Linked DNA regions of Homo sapiens: regions 1 and 3 are each linked to region 2. Evidence: promoter capture Hi-C in 16 types of primary human blood cells and fetal thymus (Javierre and others, 2016). All regions are on one chromosome and are shown on one strand. Each heading gives the region's core, a stretch centred on a gene start or on the middle of the fragment in contact. The rest is flanking DNA. Distances are from core to core; before and after follow the strand shown. Region 1 overlaps GRIN3A (glutamate ionotropic receptor NMDA type subunit 3A). Region 2 holds the start of SMC2 (structural maintenance of chromosomes 2). Region 3 overlaps GRIN3A (glutamate ionotropic receptor NMDA type subunit 3A).

Evidence for each region. The method cuts DNA at HindIII sites, captures the fragments that hold promoters and counts their contacts. A CHiCAGO score of 5 or more calls a contact.
Region 1: a fragment that was not itself captured here is called in contact with the fragment with the promoter of SMC2 in region 2 in 1 of 17 cell types (total CD4 T cells); the score reaches 5.0 in total CD4 T cells.
Region 3: a fragment that was not itself captured here is called in contact with the fragment with the promoter of SMC2 in region 2 in 1 of 17 cell types (M1 macrophages); the score reaches 6.5 in M1 macrophages.

The regions. Positions count from the first base shown.
Region 1 is chr9:101,598,940-101,602,763 of GRCh38, forward strand. All of the region lies in intron 6 of GRIN3A (glutamate ionotropic receptor NMDA type subunit 3A), which reads right to left. Among named protein-coding and RNA genes, the nearest start is that of PPP3R2, 5.9 kb to the left of the region's middle. The HindIII fragment of the contact is 1,138 bases long and covers 1,993-3,130 here.
Region 2 is chr9:104,091,948-104,095,604 of GRCh38, forward strand. SMC2 (structural maintenance of chromosomes 2) reads left to right here and starts at 2,362. Exons shown (of 25, transcript NM_006444.3): 1 at 2,362-2,530; 2 at 3,377-3,605. The coding sequence starts at 3,438. SMC2-DT (SMC2 divergent transcript) reads right to left here and starts at 527. Exons shown (of 3, transcript NR_121580.1): 1 at 142-527. RefSeq lists enhancers at 1,645-2,314, 1,777-2,096, 2,315-2,982. The HindIII fragment of the contact is 5,032 bases long and covers 1,929-3,657 here.
Region 3 is chr9:101,578,286-101,582,093 of GRCh38, forward strand. GRIN3A (glutamate ionotropic receptor NMDA type subunit 3A) reads right to left here. Exons shown (of 9, transcript NM_133445.3): 7 at 911-1,075. Among named protein-coding and RNA genes, the nearest start is that of PPP3R2, 15 kb to the right of the region's middle. The HindIII fragment of the contact is 3,086 bases long and covers 453-3,538 here.

The DNA.
Region 1 (3,824 bases), core at 1,312-3,811, 2.5 Mb before region 2:
ATTCCTTGATAGTCATTTAGAAAGGAGCTCCCAGTGTGAAAACTCTTAGCTGTATTTCCCTATGTGAGTGTGTGGTTAGGAGGTAGGAAAGGGTAATGGAGAGAGCATAGGAGGTAAATAGTTGGTTCCAGCCTCAGCTCTTTACCTTATTAGCTGTGAGCCTTTGAGTGAAGCCATTGCTGTACCAGCCTCAACATCCTCATCTGTGAAATGGTGATAATACCTACACATGCTTCATCTACCGATGTGTTATTGTAAGAGTCAGATGAGGTAGCGTATATAGAAATGTTATGTAAGAGGTGAAATCTTGTCACAGGAATATTGAATGGTTACACAGACAGTATTAGGAAGATGGTACCACTTCACTGAAATAATTCAGGTGTACAAGCAGAACCATTCTACTCTGTGCTGTAGAGGAGGTAACATTATGCTAGATCTGGAGTTTTAGTCAATGTGAACTTGAGTTCCCATTGTTCTACCTTTCATAAACTATGTAGCTCAGCATTATTATGGGACTCAACACCATTGTTTTGATTTTCTCTGTAAATGATTCTTAGTAATTTCCATGGAAAACACTGTTTGTTACTTTTCTGTTCATCACTGTGGATTGATGTGGACTGTAGGACATTCACTGAAGCAAGTAAATTAAAAGGGTTGACTAACTGTTTTGGAAGAAACCAGGAGCCTTGATGGCACCTCTATTTCAGCATGTCATTTTTTTCCCTCAAAAGTTTTTAGATAAAGAAATATTGAGTAGGTCACATGTAAAAATAACTGACATTGGAAAATCAAACCAACGGAAATGGAAATGAGACCTGAGGTTCATATAAGGCTTCATTTTTCAAGCCAGTCAGGAGACCAGGTCACACAGCTGTTCTAGAAGCTATACAGGTGGTCCTTGACATTTGGTTGGAAGCTCTCACCTTTCTGTAGCATTGCCGGTCACCATATTTAATATCTAAGCGTACTGACGTTAGCCACAGTTTAGACTGTGGAACTACTAGCTCGAGTTTAAACTGTTTTTGAGCATCAGGTTTGTCATCTGTTTGGTTTTCTTTTGTAATACTGAAATGGTGTTTAATGAATTTTGGCATGTATGGTTTTAAATCAAAGTTTTGCTATTTAACAACTTTGTGACCTTGGGCAGAGTTACTTATCTGAATCTTTTCACTCATCTGTAAAACAAGGATGATGATTACTAACTCATAACATCACTTTCAGGATTAAATGAGATAGATTATAAGAAGAAGGGTGCTCAATGCCTATCACATAGTAGGTACAGGAATGGTAGAGATTATAATTATTGCCTACTTTAGGCTTGCTTAAAAACTCAAGTAGACTGTATGCATACATGCACACAGATATACTCAGCTATTTATTTGTTTTCTCAACAAATAATTATTGAGGATCTACTATGTGAGAAGAATATAATACTGACCTAAAGTGGATACTTTTCTTGTTGTCCCTGTTCTCCTGGAGCTTACAGTTTTGATGGGAAGATGGACATTAACCAAATTATCATGTCCATAGATGTAAAGGAGCACCTGCCTTGAGTGTTACAGATGAGAAGTACATGGTACCAGGAGAGTTTGGACAACAGAAAACTTTTACTGGGGAAATGATGACTGATTTACAATCTCAAGAAGCAGAAGAAGTTAACTAGATGTTCTGGGAAGGAATGAGTGTTCCAGGTAGAAGAAACTCCATGTGCAAAGAGGCCCTAGGGCAGGAGGAACAAAACAAGTAGGAGGAACTGAAAGAATGCCAGTGTGACTGGAGTAGGGAGGTCAAGGGAGAGCATATGGAGCATACCGGAGTAGGGAGGTCAAGGGAGAGCATGGTATTGGACGAAGTGATAAGATGGTTTGACCATTCCCCATACACTGAAGAAAAGACAACATTTACTCAATTATTCTTTATAGGGCATCATTTATTCAATCATGTTTTAACATGTAAAGCATTGGGACATTCAGAGATGGTCTTTGCTCAGAAAGCTTGCTGATCAGTGAGTGAATTGAGGCATTAAAGAATTATAATTAATAATACAAGATGGACAACAAAACATGTCATCAGAGAGGTAAGGGAAAAGAACTATAAGAACTCAGAGAATTGAGAAATTACTTCTTGCTGGGAACAATAGAGGAAGACTTTTTTCTTTCTTCAAGAAGTATTTGATCCTGAGGGAGAAAAGGGAACAAGTACCATAATCACAGAAGTGGGAAAGAGTACAGGTGTAGATATTAGCAAGTTGCTTATAATGGCTGAAGTACTTGAGCAAAGTAGCAGAAGATGAGCTAGACAGAACCAGATGAAGCAGGGTTTTGAATGTTTGGCTAAGACATTTAGTCTCTACCCAGTAGGGAAAGCACACGTTTTATCAAAAGAACAACTTAATCACAATTATATTTTGGAGAGATTAATCTGGCATTATGGGTAGATTGAATAGGACAAGAGACCAGTATCTGGGAGAGCAGCTAGGAAACAATGACATCTACAAATGCTTGTCTAGAAGAGCCTGAGCTGGGATGCAAGAGGCACTAGAAGTAAAATGTGGAGTGTATTAATTATTTTGCAAGAGCTGTTGTAATGAAGCAGCACAAACGGGGTGGCTTAAACAACAGACATTTATTGTCCCCTAGTTCGGGAGGCTAGAAGTCTGAAATCAAGGAGTTGGCAGGGTCATGCTCCCTTTGAAACCTGTAGGGCAACCCTTGCTTGCCTCTTCCTAGCTCCTGGTGGTTTGTGGTCATCTTTGGCCTTCCTGACTTGCAGATGCATAAATCCATTCTCTGCCTTCATCATCACATGGTGCTCTCCCTGAGTGTCTGTCTTTGTGTGATAGATGGCTTCTGACAAGGATGCCAGTCATACTGGATTCGGGGTTCACTCTTGCTGCAATATGACTGCATCTCAGCTCAACCAAACATGTCTGCAATGACCCTATTTCCAAACCAGAACACATTCTGAGGTATTGAGAATTAGGACCTCAGAACCTCAATATCTTTTTTGGGGGACACAATCCAACCCATAACACCTAGGCTGAAGTCTTATTGGACAGAAGGACAGAGGGAAGGAGCTCAGAGGAGGCCCCAGATGTGCGTGCATTGGCTTCCCTGGCCAGCTAGCCCTAAGCTTTCATGTTGCAGGAAGCCACCTATACTGTGTGAGAAGAGGGGCATCTCTATAAAGGCTCCAGGGCTCTCTCATGATGTTGCCTTCTCATCCAACACGTCCTGAAATTCTACCAACTCCCACAGCCGCATGGGGAGGAATTGTCCTCAGATACCCTGGAGGAAATGTCAGGGCAATTTCTCACAATTTTAGACTTGGTTTTTGCCTTTTGTGAGAAAGAAAAAAGATGGCTTTTGCAGTATTTTGTAACAACTCGCATCAATAGCCACTAGATGGCAATCTTCACACATTTCCATGCTTTCTCCGCTTTCTTCAAACCCGAATCCTCAAAGCCTGGAGGCAACTCCTCTCTGCACAGGGAATAGAGGTGAGTGAGGAGTCCCATTTCCTGTGATCCCCCACAGACTTTAGTGCATGGAAGTCTAAAAAAATGGAAGGAAGACTGTCTCTCACAATAGTCCTAATCAGTTTTAGCACCGTTCATACCTTTTAGTTGCATAGTAAATAGCATTTCATAAATATTCATGAGTTTGCCGAATTTAACCAGGGGAAAAGCAAGAACTCTTAACAGTATGTGGTCTTGGGTGTAATTTATGCCCAAGTATCTCTGGCATATAAAAGCGGGGACTCTTATTCCGAGAGGTCTGTTTACTTGGTCGTTAGCAAGGGTGAAGGAGACACTTGCTGAAATT
Region 2 (3,657 bases), core at 1,112-3,611:
TCAAACGATTTTAATCCATGGTGATGAAGCAAGAACAGTGTTTTCTGTACACTGCATCTACCCTATACTCTCTGTTTCTACCCCTCACATCTCCAAATTAGGGGGCTTCACTGGCTTTGTGCCTTGGTTTTTTCCACTCACCTGTGTGATCTCAGGAGGCAGAGTTTCAAGTTAGTCATCAGTGATTTCCTCAAGTCCATTTGTCTTATATTTAGCAGCAATTCCTTAGTGCTTCTGGCACGCAATAAGACTAAAACTGAGAGATCTCCACCTTTATAAGCATTTTTCATTTTAATCAATGGTCTTAATGGGAGTAGTTAGATCTGCACATTCTTCTAACCACCCAGGAGTCCTTATCCAACAACAGTGCACTTGTGTATGTTTTCATCCATGTGACGTAAGTGTATCAGCTAGTTGTTAAAGTGCAAAGACTAACAGTCTGTCTTAACACATATTTCCATACCAAAAAATCACTTTATTTCACAACGTGACAAAGTCCACATTAGGATTTGTTGGCAAATTAAAATTCTTTACTCACAAAATGATAAAAGGAAGGAGACACAGCTCAAAGTTAATGTGTAAGAGTTAACAGAATCAATACAAGTGAATAGCTGTGGAGCCCAGGGGATGCAGGAATCAAGGCAGACAAAGATATCTGTTGAATTAAATTAATGTTAGGTCACTACCCATGGTTGACATCACAGAAGTGGATAAGCATACCAGAGTAAACAAAGGAATCCTTTCTTAAACAAAAAACCCATACAACTTATTTTACTCCCTTATCGAGAAATATTTTCAAAATATAAGCCCATTCCTGGTAGGTTAAGACCAATTCAGATGACTGCATTGCCATTCCAGGGCCAAGAAAGCAACTTTAAAAACATGACCTACGCTATGGTCTAAATGTGTCCCTCAAAATGCACATTTTGAAATCCTAACTCCCGAACTGACGGTTTTAGCAAGTGGCATCTTGGGAAGTGAGGAATGGGATTAAGGTCCTTATAAAATAGGCCCAAGCGAGGGCCTCTGCCTCTCCACCATGCGAGGACAGAGCCAGAAGGTGCTATCCACTAAAGAGAAAGCACCCCTCCCTAGACACACCTTATTCTGTGACATTCCAGCCTTCAGAAATGTGAAGAATAAACTTCTGTGGTTCATAAACTACCCAGTCTAGGATATTTTGTTATGGAAGCCCAAAAGGATCAAGCCATTCCAAAATAGCATTGTTGCCCACACCATCTTTTTGAACCTCACTTAGGGTAACACCATACCCATTCGGAGTTAAGCCCTTCCTAACTCTTAAGTATCAACGTGCTTGGAAACGTGAGCAATCCTGACACGTTTTTTCTTCCTAAAGAACAATACATACTAATAATAGGATCGGCTAATAATACTAGATTCTATGCATGAAGCCTAGTATTTAAAAGCATGCAATCTGGAGCTAGACCGCCTGGGAACAAATCCCAGCTTACTAGACAAGCTGTTTAACCTTTTACTTGGTCTCATTTAACTCATTTGTAAAACGAGGGCAATTTCTGATTTCATAGGGTTGCTACGTGGATTTTAAAAAGCCCCTTGCAATATAGCCTAATATTCAGAACTCAATAACATGAACTGTCTTAAAAGGTTTCCAGAAAAAATCCCCAACAGGTTAGGTCGGCTTATCATTACAACGCTTTCCGGTATAAGGGAGATGAATAGCTATTTAGCACCACACAATTTCTCCTCTGGGCTCGGAACAGCTCTCGGTAGACTACGATCCCTTTCCGACGTGGAAACTTCAGATAAAAACGCTCCCCGAGGTCCGAGGCCAGTACGGGGCGGAGCCAGGACGCGGGCCAGAGTCCCCCGAAGGACGGTGCCTCTCTGGCCCCAAGAAGTACAGCTTTTATTTTGCAGCAATCTGAGCCAACCCGAGAAGATTCTGAAGCTTCCAAAACAGAACCGACGAGAACACTCATAGAATGCCTCTCCACTTCCTAACTGTCGCTTTGAGGAGAGAAAAGTAAGCCACAGCCAGCACCGCAGACTGGAGAAGGCGGAGTCTGCAGTGTGCCTAACGCGAACTAGAGGGACCGAGGCGGGGCGGGGCTGGCGAAGCGCGAGGACCCGGGGCCGAGGTGTGGGGCTGACCATAGAGTGCCGGACGCCGGTGTGAACATACACTATCTGCTCCTGTAGTGCCCAGGCCCCTGCCGGGGAGTCCCCGGAGCTACCATTATCGAGACTCTCATTCTATTGCCCTGCGGCTTTAATCCTTCGAGTGTAGGGGAAAAATTGAACCCTAAAGACAGGCAGCTCCTAGGCACCAGCACAGGAAATAAGCAATGGAGGTGGGGTCCTTTGCTCGCGCCGAAATTCAAAGGAATAAATAGTTCCGGCGCGGGTGTTGAGAGCGGTGTGGCAGGTGTTGTAGCCGCTATGGTGAAGTTCGCTTTGTAGCGGCCCCGGCTAGAGAGTTGTTCTGTTCCCTGCCTTTGTGACCCGGAGGAGCTTTTGGGGTGCGTCAAGCCCCTGGCCTGAGGCAGCGGTGAGGCGTGTGCGTGAGCACGGCCGGTTGGGCCGGGCCAGACTTCCTGGCGGGAGGCGGGAGGCGGGAGGCGGGGCGCGGGGCGCGGGGGCTGTAGGGAGGGGGACCAGTGGCAGAGGGACCTTAGGTGATCCTTAGAAATAAAGGCTAGCTTCTGTTCGACCTTGGAGTAGGGCGAAGAGGTGTAGACAGGCCTGGAGAAGCGAGGTAAAAGCCTGAGTAAAAGCAAGAAGTTGGAGAATATGAGATACATCTCATCTCTAGTAAATACTTAAATGACTTCCCCTCCTCCCGGAGTCAAGCACAATTCGGGGATGCAATGACGGACGTAGGTGAAGACACTGCGGGAACTTACAGACAAGTAATGACCGTCTAATATCAGCTTTAAGTACCATGAAGGAAAAAGAAAGCCGAGTGAAGGATTGTGGAGAGGTGACATAGGGAGGTCAGGGAGGACTCCAGTAAGGTGACATTTGAGCAAAGACGTGAGTGCAGTAGAGAGTAAGCTATGTCAGTATCAGAGAAAAGCACATTATAGGCAAAGATAATGGGATATGTAATAATCCATAGTCTTTGTTTAGGTAGAGTATGATAAAAGTAGAAGGCAAGCCTGGAAAAACGGGTAGAAGAAATAGTTAAGACTTCCCAGTTGAATGGTTTAATTTCCAGATAGTGGCTAACTCTGGTATATTTTTGAGTAGATGAACGATGTCTTTACATCAGACAAGATAGTTTGTCAAGTGGCTGTTTTATTTCTATCACCCTATCGTTGCTGTTTTTGCCTCGTGTTCATTATGATTCCAGGTTTACATTCCACTTAGGTGGTGGTATTTCTGTTTCGTACAGAACTGGTTTGTGGCCTGTTTGATTCCTGTCAGAGGTTTGCTGACCCAAGACAGTATCGAAAATGCATATTAAGTCAATTATTCTAGAGGGATTCAAGTCCTATGCTCAGAGGACCGAAGTCAATGGTTTTGACCCCCTCTTCAATGCTATCACTGGCTTAAATGGTAGTGGGAAATCCAACATATTGGACTCCATCTGCTTTTTGCTGGGCATCTCCAACCTGTCTCAGGTAAAGTGTAAACTTTCTGATTTATTTGAATTTAAGTTGGCAGGAGAATCCT
Region 3 (3,808 bases), core at 746-3,245, 2.5 Mb before region 2:
AAATACTTCCCAGGATAAAAGTAGGAAGAACAGGGTTCAACTGTAACCAAACCAATGATAGTAACCTATCTAGAAAAAAAAAAAGTGTTACCAAAGTGAGGAGTTTAGTATGAGGGTATATGAATACATGAATAGGGTAAATGCAGAAGTGACAGCCTCCCTGCTGGGAGGTAATCCATGGTACACTGGAGGGCAGGAGGTGGTCTCACCACAGGAGAGGCCAGGATGGCTCATCCAGCCTTGCTGTGGTCAAGTGAAACCACTCCCTTTGTTAGAGTTCTTCCATCATTATGAAGCCTTCTGACTATATTTTGGGTCTCCATGCCAATTTCATTCAGGGAGAGATATGCAAACGAGTGTGCTTGAGTCACCAGTCTGCTTGACAGTTTCAGTTCTCCCTGTAAATCAGTGCGTTGATGTCTAGGTAACAGGAGAGAACTGCGGCCTTGTGAAGCTTGGCCTTGGCCCCAATGGGTCTCAAACCCCTCTGGACCAGGGAAAAAGCAGAGAGAACAGGGGCAAGTGGGGTCACTTAAAGGGGACCAGGGACTTTAAACTCACGTAATAGGTTTCAATTTTGGCAAGAAAAGAACCTAGGAAATAAATCTTTCACACCATCTTTTCAGACTGTCACTATTAAGTGAAACCTGGTTAAAAAAGTTCTATTTCTTCTATTATGAACAACAGTGGAGGGTTATAGGAAAGGAAGGAGCACTGTGGGATGCCTTAATTTAAGGGAAAAGTGAATTAATGGGATAGAGAGAATTCCTTCTGCTCTAATGAGAGTGCCTACCCCACCCTCGTTATTGTGGTAACATAACTTAGTAGTCTGACATAGGGCTCTGGATCCTCCCATCCCTAGGAATTGTACAGTTTAAGAATATTGGAGCAAGACACCTGTGGCACTCACCTGGCTGGTGTGGAGCCAGTATTGCAGCTTGGATTTGTTTTTGATTCGTGGTAGCAGCAGCCTGTATACTATGTGCTCACCAATGGTGGTCAAAATGGACAGACCAAATCCAATGCACAGCAGCACAAAGAGCCCAGAGAAGTGTTTGATGCCCATTTGCAAAGTCTGTGACAGAATAGGAAAGAAAAGGCCATGAATACAATGATATACCTGGCCCAATGCTTGTGTACTCTTTGGTTTTCAGATGGATATTCATTTTTTCTGGACTCAAGGACAGCTGGAGACTATTTCTCCCTGTGTGTTCTGTGACCTTCATTATACATCATGAAAGAAATTCAGCCAGGGTTGGACTGAGGGCTGCCGAGGAGCACCCAATGCCTAGAGGGTGAGAAATAAAAATAAAATTAAAAGCTCTCCAACCGACTGAACGAACTTTCTCTTGTCCATGGGGACCCCGAAGAAACCTTAAAAACTGAGTTCCTGGCCTTGATTGGATGGGAGGTCTGTCATGCCTCAGTTGTCCCTTCCTTATTAACCTTTAGCCATAATTCATTCTTAAGAAGTAAGCAAAAGCTAGCTCTGGAAAACAAGAAACCGATAACTCATTGCTTTATCACCTTTAGCTAATCATCTAAGGCCATAACCAGATTCTCCCTCCCTCTTTGCAGTTTCAGTGTGACAGCTCACCAGTTTCCCAATGCACCCTTCCTAAAAAATGACCACAATCTCCAGATGGTTTTGGCCAACTTGTGGGGGATGCATAGTGAGGGTTTTCATGTCCTCTGCTTCACATTTGGACATCAGAAGACCAAAATCTCCACCCTCGGGTCATGCTAACACCACCATTTTTTGAACATGGGCCCAGGAAGAGGCATGAAGCTCAACTGCACATGTGCATGTATCTCTTTTCATAAATATTTATGACTCCTCCTATAGCTTACTCAATACGTATACTCAGCCACCCCACTCAGCATAAATTCCTGTTCCCTTTTACCCCTCCCTTGAAGTGCTTGCTCTCAGCTTCTGCTGAGGCTATGCTTCCCATTCTGCAGGATGGCTGGCCTGCTGGCTGCAACCCTTTATGAGAACTAAAGATCTCCTGGCCAAATTTATGAAGCTCATGATTCTTCAGTTGACAGGCGCTATTCGTATGTTAATCCACTGTGCAAATGGCCCCTGGAGTTGTGCCAAGGCCCTGGGTCTGGACCACCTTATGGTCTCTTAGAGATTGAGAGAGATAGAGATAGAGAATTGAAACAATTTAATATACCTGGTAGCTGTCAAGGAAAGAACGTCCCTCAGGGAAGAGAATGAGTAGATTTAAGGGGAAAAAGATGGTGAGTTCAGTAACTTTGGAATTTGGATCTGGTAGGGAACATGGAAATCATCTAGTTCATTTACAGAGGAGGAAAGTGAGACCAGAGAAGTGTAGTAAACCGAGCCAAGCCACAAAAAAGGCATAGAAGAGAAAGAGAAGGAACTTAATGATATTTATTGGTTGCTTACTTTCTGCCAAGTGTTTTACATTAAAATAGATATATAACGTCTATTTTATAACTAAGGAAAGTGGAGTTACTGCAACTTTTAAGTGGCAAAGTTGGTCTTTCAGTCCATTTCTGTTCAGCTCCAAAGCCTGGGCTCTTTCTGCTCTACTGCTATATACCAAAACAGCAGCAGTTATAGCAACAATAGTAGTTACAATAAATATCTGTGGCCAGCACTTTGCTAAGTGATTTGTGTAGATTAAGAAAACCCTCACATGTACTCTAAAACAGCCATTATTTAGCCATTGACATCAATGACAAGAGTCAATCCCGTAGAAGTAAAAATACATAATATATTGAGTTAATACTAGGTGCCAGGCACTCTTCTGCGTATCATGGGATAGAGATAGAAGGAAGTTATATCTTTCCTTTTAAACAGCTTGAGTCTAGGGAGAAAACAAACATATACCTCCATGATACATTTGATCCATGCTTCCTGGGATTTGTGGGGAAGCTGGTTCATGAGATAACATTTGAATAAGACAGGCAGGATGGGGAGGTTGGGTGGGGAAAGTGAACATACTAACCTGAGGGTAGCATAAACAAAGGAAAAAAGACATGACTTTCCTGGACAGTGGTATAGTGTTGTGAAACTGACTGCTGTGGCTGAAGGAAAAGTATACAAGGCATGAATAGTGCCATAGTTTGAATGTATATGTCCCTCTCAAACTCATATGTTTAAACCTAAACTCCAAGGGTTGGTATTAAGAGCCCTTATGAAGGGATGAGTGCCCTTATAAAAGGGCTTGAGGAAGCTAGCTAGTCCCTTTTGTTGCCCTTCCAGCCTTTCACCATGGGAGGACACATCATTTGTCCCCTGTGGAGGACAAGCAACAAGATGCCATCTTGGAAGCAGAGACTGGGCCCTTACTAAGACAATAAACTTGGTGGTGCTTTGATCTTGAACTTCCAGCCTCCAGAACTGTGGGGAATACACTTCTCTTCTTTATAAAGTACCCAGTCTCGGGTATTTTGTTATAATGGCACACATGGACAAAGATATGCAGTGAGAGAGAAACAGGGCCACACTAGGCAAATCCTCAGATGCCGTACTAAGGAGCCTGGGTGTTATCCCTTTGCTGGAAGCTTTTGGTCATCATTATCATTTATAATTATTTAGCATTGAATATGTGTAAGGCACAATTCTGAGCACTTTATCAATGTAGCAACTTGCCTTATCTTTATGACAATTTATAAGGTAAATACTGGTATAATCTCCATTTTATAAGTGAAGAAACTGAGCAACAAAGAAGTTCAATAACTTGTCCAAGGTCACATAGCTCGTGAAGGTTAGAGCTGGGATTCAAACCCATGCCGTCTGTTTTCAGAGCCCACAGTCTTCACTGACTCATTT